Regions from separate parts of the Homo sapiens genome. Here region 1 is linked to region 2. Evidence: promoter capture Hi-C in human tissues and cell types (Jung and others, 2019). All regions are on one chromosome and are shown on one strand. The core of a region is centred on a gene start or on the middle of the fragment in contact, and the rest is flanking DNA. Distances in the headings are between cores, read along the strand shown.

Region 1 (5,323 bases), core at 2,354-4,853, 130 kb after region 2:
AGCTCCGTGCCTTTGTACTCTGCCTACAATCCCCATTTTCTGTCTGGGACCCTCCTACACATCCTTCAAGACATAATTCAATTGTCACCTCCTCCATGAAGCTTTTCCTGCTATCTCTAAACTGCCCCAACAGAACAGTCTGCTTACGGCCTTATCGTGCTGTGAACACCATCTATTACGTATTAGACATACTACAGTGGGGCACGCACCCTCCTCCAGCCCCCTCAAGCACATACTAAAACCACCAGGAAAGCTTTCTCAAACCACCCACTCTACTTCCTCCTCCAGATTCCAATGCAGTGAGTTCACGATGGCATCCAGGATAGTGATTCTGGGATGCCCCTGGTCCCACTCTCCTCCCAAGAACCAGCACTGTCCTGTAATTGCTGATCCCCTTACAAATGCAGTATGCTTTAGCATTTCTAAAGAATATTTTTTCATCAGACTCACAAAAACTCTCTGAAAGGAACAAGATTGGTGCTATCATCTCTACTTTACCGATGACAAGACTGAGGCTCTGAGAGCTGAACTAACTTTACCAGTGTCATACAACCTGACTCCCAGGTGCTTCCCAGGACCTCTGTGTCTCCCAAAGGCCACCACTCCCACACCTAGTCTGGGAGGCAGGTGCATCCTGTCTGTCTGGGCCTTGAGAGCTGAAGGTCCTTGGGGTGGGTAAGCTCACCCCACACGGTGATACAGTGTTTAGTACACTGATGCGTCCCTAACAGCCAAATAACCGTGGTCCATAACACACACCTCACCTAGTGCTCTAACCTTCCCCTTATTTTTCAGAACTGCCCGCCAATTTCCAACCTGAATCCCCCTCTTGCGTCAAAATCATCCAAGTTCCTCTTGCTCTTCCCTCAGCAGAGAGGGGAGCAGCAGGTTTCTTTCTTGGATATATTCACAACTGGGTTTTGAAGACTTCCCCTGCCTCAAACCACACATGCATAGGGTGGAGGGCTCAAAGTCTTCCGCTCCTTACATGAGAAGAAACCGACTGTTCTATCTGAGCTCCCACAGAAGCTGTGTCTATGCCAAAGAAGCACATCCACCTGAGGCTGGAAAGTGGAGACCGTACCCAGTGCTGGCCAGACAGCCCCCACCACACCATCTTCCAATAGAAGGAGAGTGTCAGCAACTTAAAGAGGGACATCCACAAATGAGACCAGATTCAGGGGAAGGGGGCCAGAAAGGTGAAGAATTCACAGACCATCTCATGTAACAGCCTGGGAAGAGGAGCCCAAGCAGATGCAGGTCTGGGAACTCCAAAAGAATTCAGAGAGAGCAGACTAGGAAATTTGTCATTGGTTATCCCTGAGAACAGAGCAAGGGCCAGTGAGGCCAGAGTTAGGTTCACATAAGAAAGAACTTTCTATTTGAATAGATATTTCTCCAAAGATATATGAATGGCCAAGAAGCACATGAAAAGATCCTCAGCCTGGGTGTGGTGGCTCACGCCTGTAATCCCAGTACTTTGGGAGGCATAGATGGGCAGATCACTTGAGGTCAGGAGTTCAAGAGCAGCCTCGCCAACATGGCAAAGCCCCGTCTCTGCTAAAAATACAAAAATTAGCTGGGTGTGGTGGTGCATGCCAATCTCAACTACTCGGGAGGCTGAGGCACGAGAATCACTTGAACCCCAGGAGGTGGAGGTTACAGTGAGCCAAGATCGCCCCACTGCACTCCAGACTGGGTGACAGGGTGAGACTCTGTCTCAAAAAAAAAAAAAAAAAGACATTAATCATTAGGGAAATGCAAATCAAAACCACAGTGAGATAACACTTCACATCCATAAGGAGGACTATTGCAGCAAAATGAAAAATAACAAATGTTGGCAAGGATGTGGAGAAACTGGAACCCTTATACACTCTGGTGTAAGTGTAAAATGGTGCAGCCACTGTGGAAAACGGCATGGCATTTCCATGAAAATTTAAAAATAGAATTACCATATAATGCCACAATTATAATTCTGAGTATATACACAAAAGAACTGAAAGCAGGAATCTAAACAGATATTTTACACCCGTGTTCATAGCAGCATTATGCACAACCAAAATGGGGAAGCAAACCCAGTGTCCCCTGACAAATGAATGAATCAACACAATGTGGTATCTCTACACAATGGAATATTATTCAGCCTTAAAAAGGGAGGAAAGTCTGACACATGTTATACCACATGAATAAACCTTGAGGACATTATGCTAAGTGAAATAAGTCAGTCACCAAAGGACAAATACTCTCTGATTCCACTTATTTGAAGTACCTAGAGTGCAGCCTGGGCAACATGGTGAAACCTTGTCTCTACAAAAAATACAAAAATTAGCCAGGCATGGTGGCAGGCGCCTGTAATCTCAGCTACTCAGGAGGCTAAGGCTGGAGAATTGCTTGAACCCGGGAGGCAGAGGTTGCAGTGAGCCAAGGTCACGACAGTGCACTCCAGCCTGGGTGGGTGACAGAGTGAGACTCCGTCTCAAAAAAAAAGAGAAAAAGAGAGAGACAGAAAGAGACAAAGGAAGGCAGGCAGGCAGGTAGGCAGGCATGCAAGCAAGCAAGCAAGCAAATGAAGTACTAGAGTAGTCAAACTCACAGAAAAAGCAAGTAGACTGGTGGTTGCCACGAGCTGGGGGAAGGAGTGGGTGAAAGGAAAGTTACTGTTTAACAGATTCTGAGTTTCAGTTTTACAAGATGAAAAAAGTCCTGGAGAAGTAAAGTGGTGATGGTTGCACAACAATACTTAATGCCACAGAGCTGTGCACTTAAAAATAATATAAATGGGCAGGGCGCGGTGGCTCACGCCTGTAATCCCAGCACTTTGGGAGGCTGAGGTGGGTGAATCACCTGAGGTCAGGGGTTCAAGACCAGCCTGACCAATATGGTGAAACCCCATCTCCACTAAAAATATAAAAATTAGCCAGTCATGGTGGCAGGTGCCTGTAGTCCCAGCTACTCGGGAGGCTGAGATAGGAGAATTGCTTGAACCCGGGAGGCAGAGGTTGCATTGAGCTGAGATCACGCCACTGCACTCTAGCCTGGGCGACAGAGCGAGACTCCGTCTCAAAAAATAATAATAATAATATAAATGGTAAATCTTATGTACATTTTACAATTTGAAAATTTTTAGAAGAAACTTTATAAAAAAGCAAGATTGCTTTTAAGCTGCTTGTCACAAGCTTTAAGCTGCTTGTGACTATCTGAACTAAGTGGTTGGAATAAAAGGTAAAATAGGGATCAGCCTATATTTGGAATTCCTATTCCTCTGCACGATGTTAGAGCTGATTTTTCCCCCCTTAAAAAGGCCCCCAAAGCCATACTGATGCTCAGCATTCAGATAAATGAGTGTGTTTGGCTCAAAGTATACACAAATCAAAGAAAACCATGGACAGGTCAATACGATCTACCCTGAAGGATGCACTGATTTATTAAAATGGTCTCCCTAAGTAAGATATAGTAGTTAGGCCCCACTCCTTGTCCAGGTCTGAGCAGGAAAAAAGCTTTTGAGGAGAGGGCCCAATAGAAAGCTGCCTCCTGTCCTTGATGAACAAGGAAAGTGCCAACAAAGATGGAAGCCGGCACTTCATATTATTGCATCCAACTAGGATTACACCCTAAGCCCCAGCATACTCCTCTGGCTCTCCCCAGGACAGGAAAGACAAGGGACAAGGACCCCACAGTACAAAGCCAGCCAGGAGGAAGAGCCATCACCCCACACCATCCAATCTGGGGGAAGAATGTGCAGCCCATAGATAAAAGCCTTCTCTCCCTGGGGCCAGGGCTGGGAGAAAGTGGCAGGGGTCGGGATGGGACTGATGTCAATTCTACCTTTTCCTTTTTATCCATACTTACTCAAATAAATGGGTATCTTATTCTTTTTTTTTTCCTAACTGCCAAGTATTTAAGAATGATTAATTTGGTTCAACTACGCCACAGGGCTAGAAACATTTGACCCCAAAGTGAGCCATGAAGCCATTCTACAACAAAAACACTGGGAACAATAAAACAGATTGCTGCAAGGGGTAGTAAGCTCTCTGTCTCTGGAAGCATTTAAGCAGAGGCTGGCTGACCACTCTCTGGGTTGTGGTCAGGGAGATTCTTGCATTCTAGATCTGCTAAATCCTAACCTTTCATAGCAGGGTGTTGATAGATAATGTCTCAAGTGGTTTTATCAGGGAAAAAAAAAAGCCATATAAGCTTGTTGTTTAGAGTTAAGGAGGGCACCAACAGAGGAACTAGAAACAGAAAGAGTCAAGCAGCTTCCTTAGAAAGCAGGACTAGAAATGGAAGGCATGGGACAAGGGACCACTGCTCAGTGTTATAAGCTGTTTATTACTTCTTTGCCATGTGCATGTATTAATTTGATTAAAATTTTAAAAGTTTAGGCCAGGCGCGGTGGCTCACACCTGTAATCCCAGCATTTTGGGAGGGCGAGGCGGGTGGATCACGAGGTCAGGAGTTCAAGACCAGCCTGGCCAACACAGTGAAACCCCGTCTCTACTAAAAAAAAAAAAAAATTAGCCGGGCGTGGTGGTGTGCACCTGTAGTCCCAGCTACTCAGGAGGCTGAGGCAGGAGAATAGCGTGAACCCAAGAGGCAGAGCTTGCAGTGAGCCAATATCATGCCACTGCACTCCAGCCTGGGCAACAGAGCGAGATTCCGTCTAAAAAAAAAAATTTAAAGTTTAGTCAGGTGCAGTGGCTCACACCAGTAATCCCAGCACTTTGGGAGTCTGAGGCTGGTGGATCACTTGAGGCCAGGAGTTCGAGACCAGCCTGGGCAGCATGGTGAAACCCTGTCTCTACAAAACATTTTTAAAAAATTAGCATTGTGGCACACGCCTGTGGTCCCAGCTACTTAGGAGGCTGAGGCGGGAGGATTGCTTGAACCCAGGAGGCAGAAGTTGCCGTGAGCTGTGATTGCACTGCTGTACTCCATCCTGGGCAACGAGGAGAAAGCCTGTCTTCAAAAAAAAAAAAATTTAAGTTAAAAAAAATTTCCGACCGGGCACAGTGACTCATGCCTATAATCCCAGCACTTTGGGAGGCTGAGGCGGGTGGATCACAAGGTCAGGAGATTGAGACCATCCTGGCTAACACGGTGAAACCCCGTCTCTACTAAAAAATAGAAAAAATTAGCTGGGCGTGGTGGCAGGTGCCTGTAGTCCCGGCTGCTCGGCAGGCTGAGGCAGGAGAATGGCATGAACCTGGAAAGCGGAGCTTGCAGTGAGCCAAGATCATGCCACTGCACTCCAGCCTGGGTGACAGAGTGAGACTCCGTCTCAAAACAAACAAACAAAACAACAACAACAACAACAAATTTCCAT
Region 2 (5,508 bases), core at 1,604-4,103:
CAATACTTGTTTGTATCCCCACCACATCATCAAATACATACTGGGAGTCCTAACCGGCTGGGAGTGGGCTGGTCATTGCCCAGGTCACCTTGGCTGTCCACGCTGTACCTCACTGGTCTGGGTCTGTCTGTCTAGGTAGTGACTACATATCTATTATAAGTCCCTCCCCTCCCACAGCATAAGTAATTTCTCTTATTTTCCCCAGAACCCCTTCCCTCCCTGAGCCCTCCAATGGTCTCCCCCAACCTTCCCATTGCACCTACTTGTTGTACAGGACCACATCTGGGAGCCAGATGTGTTTGGAAGGGAGCCGAACTTTCTTCATGTTGTCAAACTCTTCAGGCTTCCAGGTGAGGCGATAATCTTCCCACTCCTGGGAAATGAGAGAGGGAGGCAGTACCAACTTGTGCCCTGGGTGGGGCTCAAGGTTAAGGAAACGAACTAGAGGGGGCCCATATGGCTTGAGGGACCTTTTAAAAGCCAGCCTCTTCCCCACAGTGACTTCTCTGCCCATCAGGTATGGCTCATGTGGTACTTTCTCATTTAATTTGCACAGCTAGGCCAAGGTACAGTATTAGAATCTACATTTACAAATGAGAAAATGAATCTTGGAGAGTTTAATATGTTTAAAGTCACAAGGCTGGTGAGTGCCAAGATTCAAATCCAATTGTTTAGGACTCCAAACTCTATACCTTTCTGCCTGTTTTGAGAGATTAAGAAAGAAAAAAGCACATGGGGAAAAAGGAGGAGAGAGAAGGCCAGGGGTGTGGGTGGAAGAGAGCACTTACGCTTACCTGGGTCAGCCAGACATTGGTGGTCATGATCTGCTCCCGCTCATGCTGCAGGGAGGAAGAGAGGCTGCCGAGAAGGCCCCTAAGCCTGTGGGGTCACTGCCACCACCCAGGGTCCCTCTCACACCTCCCCAAGCCTTGGAAACACCAGGGGAGGAAGCACACAAGCATTAACACATTTTGGCGGGGCTGATTTCAGTAGCTGGGCAGAGAGCCTGGGACCTCTACTCACCACACTGATGAGCTGGGCCAGTGACACCATAAGCTGTACTGTCACCAGCTCAGAGCCATTGGTGGCTGGGCGGATAAGCTTGTTGTAGCGGGAAGGATCCAGGAGATGCTCCACCAGCCGCTCCTCTGTATCCGTACCCCACACCCCTGGGCAGGGGAAAGGCAGGACGAAAGTAAGCAGGCAAGGAGAGCCCACCCAGCATCCCACCCTCCCCAGGCAAATGGGACAATCCAGGCCCAACCAGTATCTCCCTACATCCCTAAGGATACTGCAAAATGCTTAGATTAACCCCAGGGAGGCCCCAGATTAATGTCTTCATAGAAAAGCCCCTCTCTGAGACCACTGACCAAAGAGTCTACACAGCTCCACAGAGATGACTTGAGACTAAGAACCCACTCTGCAAGGATTCATGGAGACCTGCTCTTCCCCCAAAGTCTCAGAGGGCAGTTTGAGATTTCTGCTTCCATGGCTTCCCCAGCAAATACCTATGACTCAAGGGAGGTTTAGCAGGGCAGTGAAGGTGAACAGTTATTTGTCCCAGTTATTTGTGTCCCACCACACACATCCTTTCTCCTGCCGATTGAGGAGAAAGTGTATGTGTGGTGGGACACAAATAACTGTTCCCGTTCACCATTTACATGTGCAAATGACATTATGTGCCTCACGTAATGACATGTGACTGTGGTCACGATGCCATCCTCCCCTCTCCCTAAAGGCACTGGGTTGGAGTGGAATAGCTGGGCTGCCTAAGCTGTGGGTCAGGCATATATGTAGCCCCAAGTTTCACACACACAGCAGCCCACCCCTAGAGGTGGCCTGTAGGTGTGGAAAGCTCATTCAGTTGTGCATTCCCTTTGTACCTGCCCCTCCCCGGCACACTGCATCCCCCTCTGCAACTCTGCACGAACACACCCCTCCCCATCCCCTCAGAGAGTTCCTTCCTAGTCCTCAGCCTGGCAGAGCTTCTTCCCTTCCAAGCCTCCTGTCCCACCCTACAGGAGGGTTGAAAAGTCCGTTCCGTTTTCTCCCCTTCTCTGCCCCTGAGGGGTGACGAGAATCTGGAGCCCAATGTGGGGGATGGGAAACGATGGGGAGCCCGGGGAGGGGTGCTGGTCCAGGTACCTTTCTTGAGATAATGTTTCACAAAAAGTCAGATGGCATCTTAGCGCCCTCAGAGCCGGCCTCCTGCCACCCCAGGACGCCTGGGGAGATCCCCTGCCTCCTTGCTCTCTGTGCCTGCACCACCCCTACCACCGCTGGCCAGGTTTCCATCTCTTTCTTGCTTCACTTACTCCTTCGAGTATGTCTCGTTCCCAGTCCAGCCTCCCAGGTGCTCTCTGCAGTCCCGGGGGGCTCTCCCCTAACCTCCAGCAGACTCCCCCACCTCTAGGGAATCCCTTCTTCCACCTTCCGGCCTAGCAGGGGTGAGTCAGAGGGCGGCGAGTCTTGGGCCGTTGGCTGGGGTAGGAGAACCTGGCCAGTGCCCGTCTTTCCCTTACCTGAGCACAGCCGGAGGAGGCCGAAGCCAAGGAGCAGCGCCACGGGGCCGCAGCGCCGGGCCATGCCGCGGGCATAGCTCGCTGCCTCGCCTACACCGGCTGGAGCGCGCCGCCGGGGGGAGGGCCGCGGGTGGGGCGCTGTCCGTGGTGCTGAAGCCGCGCCCGCCTGGAGCTGGGTCCAGGTGGTGCCGGCCGCCGCGGTGGTTCCTGGGCCTCAGGGAGCCGGCTGCGAGGAGAAACCAGCTTCTTGCCTATCCTGGTATGAGCAGGCGGAGGCTTTTCCGGCTGCTCTTCCAGGGAATACAATTGGGACGGTGAGGGGGAGGAGTCTGCGCCCCGGAGGCGGAAACGCTGGGTCCCAGGAAAAAAAAGGGGGGTCCCCGGCTGGGATAGTCTTCGATTGGTTCTGCCGTGGTAGGGTGTGCGTGAGGTGGAAGAAGGGCTGTTCCTCCACGGCACGGTGGAGGAGTTCTGAAGTCCTAAAGTTGGGGCAGGACCTGCAGCATGGTCGGAGAAGGGGCAAGAGGCCCGGCGGGAAGAAGCAGCAAGAGTAAGACAAGTAGGTCAGGGCCTGCTTAGTACTGAGGGCCAGACGGCCAGAACGAGCGTCGGGAGACAGGAGGAGTGTCCGGGGTTTTCGCCCTCCTTTTTTCTCTTACCAAACCCAAATGGTCCTGCTCCCCAGGTAGGCTGAGGATACAGCAGAGAAAATGTGTTTAGCCCCTTAAAGAGATAGGGGGCTGTGGGTTTGCTATTTTTAAGAAAGCAAACGGCTTTGGAGTCTAAAAGGCTAAGCTTCCTGCCCTCCCACTGAGGGTCTACCTGAGGAGGTCTAGACTTGCCTGCAAAGAAGGTAGACTTGAGGGTAATAGTGGAAAGACAAGTAGCCCCTATTCATCGGCCTTCCTCACCCCCTTCTCTTGACTCCAGCTGTTGGCTTCTGTGTGACTAGGGAGATCAGAGACCACTCACAGAGGCCTGATCAAGAGAGAAGCTAACACAAAGGAGACCAAAGATGAGAACCCTGAACTCTTAGCCCCTTTTTTTCCTTCAGTGGGTTCGTTGTCACTTTCAACCAAAAGATTCCTGACTAAAGCAGACTTAGCATACAGCAAGGCTCTGTCCTGTTTTGTCCCTGCTTACTTCAACCTCATCTGGGTCACTCCACCCCCAGCTCCACATTCCAACTATTGGCAAGGTCTTCAGGATCCTTGAACATCTTATCCGTCCCATCATCCCCCACACTTCAGGGACTTAAATGCATGGTTCTCTTGGGCTCTTTTATAACCCATGTTCCCCTCATCACCTTCTACTTAACTTTGAGCATTTGGCAGGAATGTCAATTCCTTAAGGAAGCTGCGCCTGACCAAGAACTAGATCAGATACTTTGTTATATGTTTCCAGAGCATGTCCAATGAATAAATGAATCCACCTGAGGCAGTGGCTGCCTCTCTAGATTATGAATCAACACAGTGCCTGGCATATTATTATAAGGGCTCAACAGGTAAGGAAAAGGGCTAGTACTGGACTGACACTTTTTAATGTGTAGGGAAAATTTCTCTCTAAAAGCTCAGCTAGGGACCAGGAGAGGTGACTTAAGCCCGTAATCTCAGCACTTTCAAAGGCTGAGGCAGAAGGATCACTTGAGCCCAGGCGTTTGAAACCAGCCTGGGCAACATAATGAGATCACGTGTGTACAAAAAGTTTAAAAATTAGTCGGGCATGATGGTGTGTGCCTATAGTCCCAGCTACTCGAGAGGCTGAGGTGGGAGGATCACTTAAGCCAGGGAGGTCGGGGCTGCAGTTTGGGGCATGATGGCGCAACTGCACTCCAGCCTGGGCAATGAAGCAAGACCCCATTTCAAAAACTAAACAAATAAATAAATAAAAGCCCAGCTAAAAGCAACTTATTGACCATGTCCCCAGGTCGTGGAATTAAGGGAAGAAGCAGAAAAGTTCTAGAAGAGGACTGGAGAAGTAGAAGGACTACAGACCCCATGATGCACATGGAAATGGGCGTAAATCTGCACGACTTGTTCCGGGGCATGCGCATGTGTAAGCGCACAATAATCTCTTAAGAATTAAAGAAACCTTGTAACAAAGAAAAGTAGTGAAGAAAAGCCTTAAGGAAAAGAGAAGGAATGTGTGTAGTCCCTCTGCTTAAGGAAAAGATAGAGGGTGGGAAGATCTTCCTTCAACAATTTAGATCAACATTTGTTAGGTATATGTGGTTTGCCAGGAAACTGCATGTGTGTTGTGGACCATATGTGTTGAAGATGCAGTGATCAAAAAGACTTAGTCCCAGCTATTAAGGAGATCACAGTTTGGCAGCAAATTATTATAGAATGTGATGGCTGTTCTAACAGACATATAAAGGAAGTGCTATGGATGGAAGCACAGAGGAAGAAGAGGTTAATAGTGTCTAAGAACCTAGAAGGGATGAAGATGAAAATTGAGATTTGAAAGGTGAGAAAGTCATTAAGACAAGGATGACTTAAAGGTATTCCAAACTCCTAAGAAATACAGGGAGTTTTGGTGGATGCAGAATGATTGAGGAAGGCTGTGAAAGTCTTCTCTTAACAAAAATCTCTTTCTGTAATGGTTGCTTGTTTATGGGATGAGAAACTAGGGGGTCATTTGCTTGCTTAAAGCCTCTGGCTTCTCCTGATGCAACTTCCAGGCCAGTCTACCTTCTCTTCTCAAATCCCCCAGCTTTTGCTTCAAGTTTACTTCCAGCCTGGCAAGGAGTGAGTCTTCTGAGCACAACCACCCAGTGTCCAAGCAGGGCGGGAACACCTCCTTCCTCATCTCTCCCACACATACTCCTTCCATACCCACCAAGAAGAAAGGCAGCCAGGAAGAGTGGACAGGTCCAGAACCACAGAGGGTGATGAACAGATGCAGAAGTATCAATCCTGAGGCTAAAGAGTAATTGGGCAAAGTTTTGGTGAGACACTCCCATTGCCACTGATGATAAGGAATGTTT

What was found. Contacts are between HindIII fragments. The study calls those that stand out against the background at their distance.
Region 1: a contact is called between a fragment that was not itself captured here and the fragment with the promoter of CHRNB2 in region 2, in 1 of the 25 tissues and cell types used here (bladder).

Annotation. Positions count from the first base shown.
Region 1 is chr1:154,437,072-154,442,394 of GRCh38, reverse strand. The region is part of intron 6 of IL6R (interleukin 6 receptor); the gene reads right to left. Among named protein-coding and RNA genes, the nearest start is that of IL6R-AS1, 33 kb to the right of the region's middle. The HindIII fragment of the contact is 3,775 bases long and covers 1,716-5,323 here.
Region 2 is chr1:154,565,123-154,570,630 of GRCh38, reverse strand. It overlaps CHRNB2 (cholinergic receptor nicotinic beta 2 subunit), which reads right to left and starts at 2,853. Exons shown (of 6, transcript NM_000748.3): 1 at 2,523-2,853; 2 at 1,024-1,169; 3 at 795-839; 4 at 264-373. The coding sequence starts at 2,586. It overlaps LOC107985206 (a long non-coding RNA gene), which reads left to right and starts at 2,914. Exons shown (of 2, transcript XR_001738238.3): 1 at 2,914-3,207; 2 at 4,449-5,508. RefSeq lists a silencer at 2,553-2,682. The HindIII fragment of the contact is 6,337 bases long and covers 2,210-5,508 here.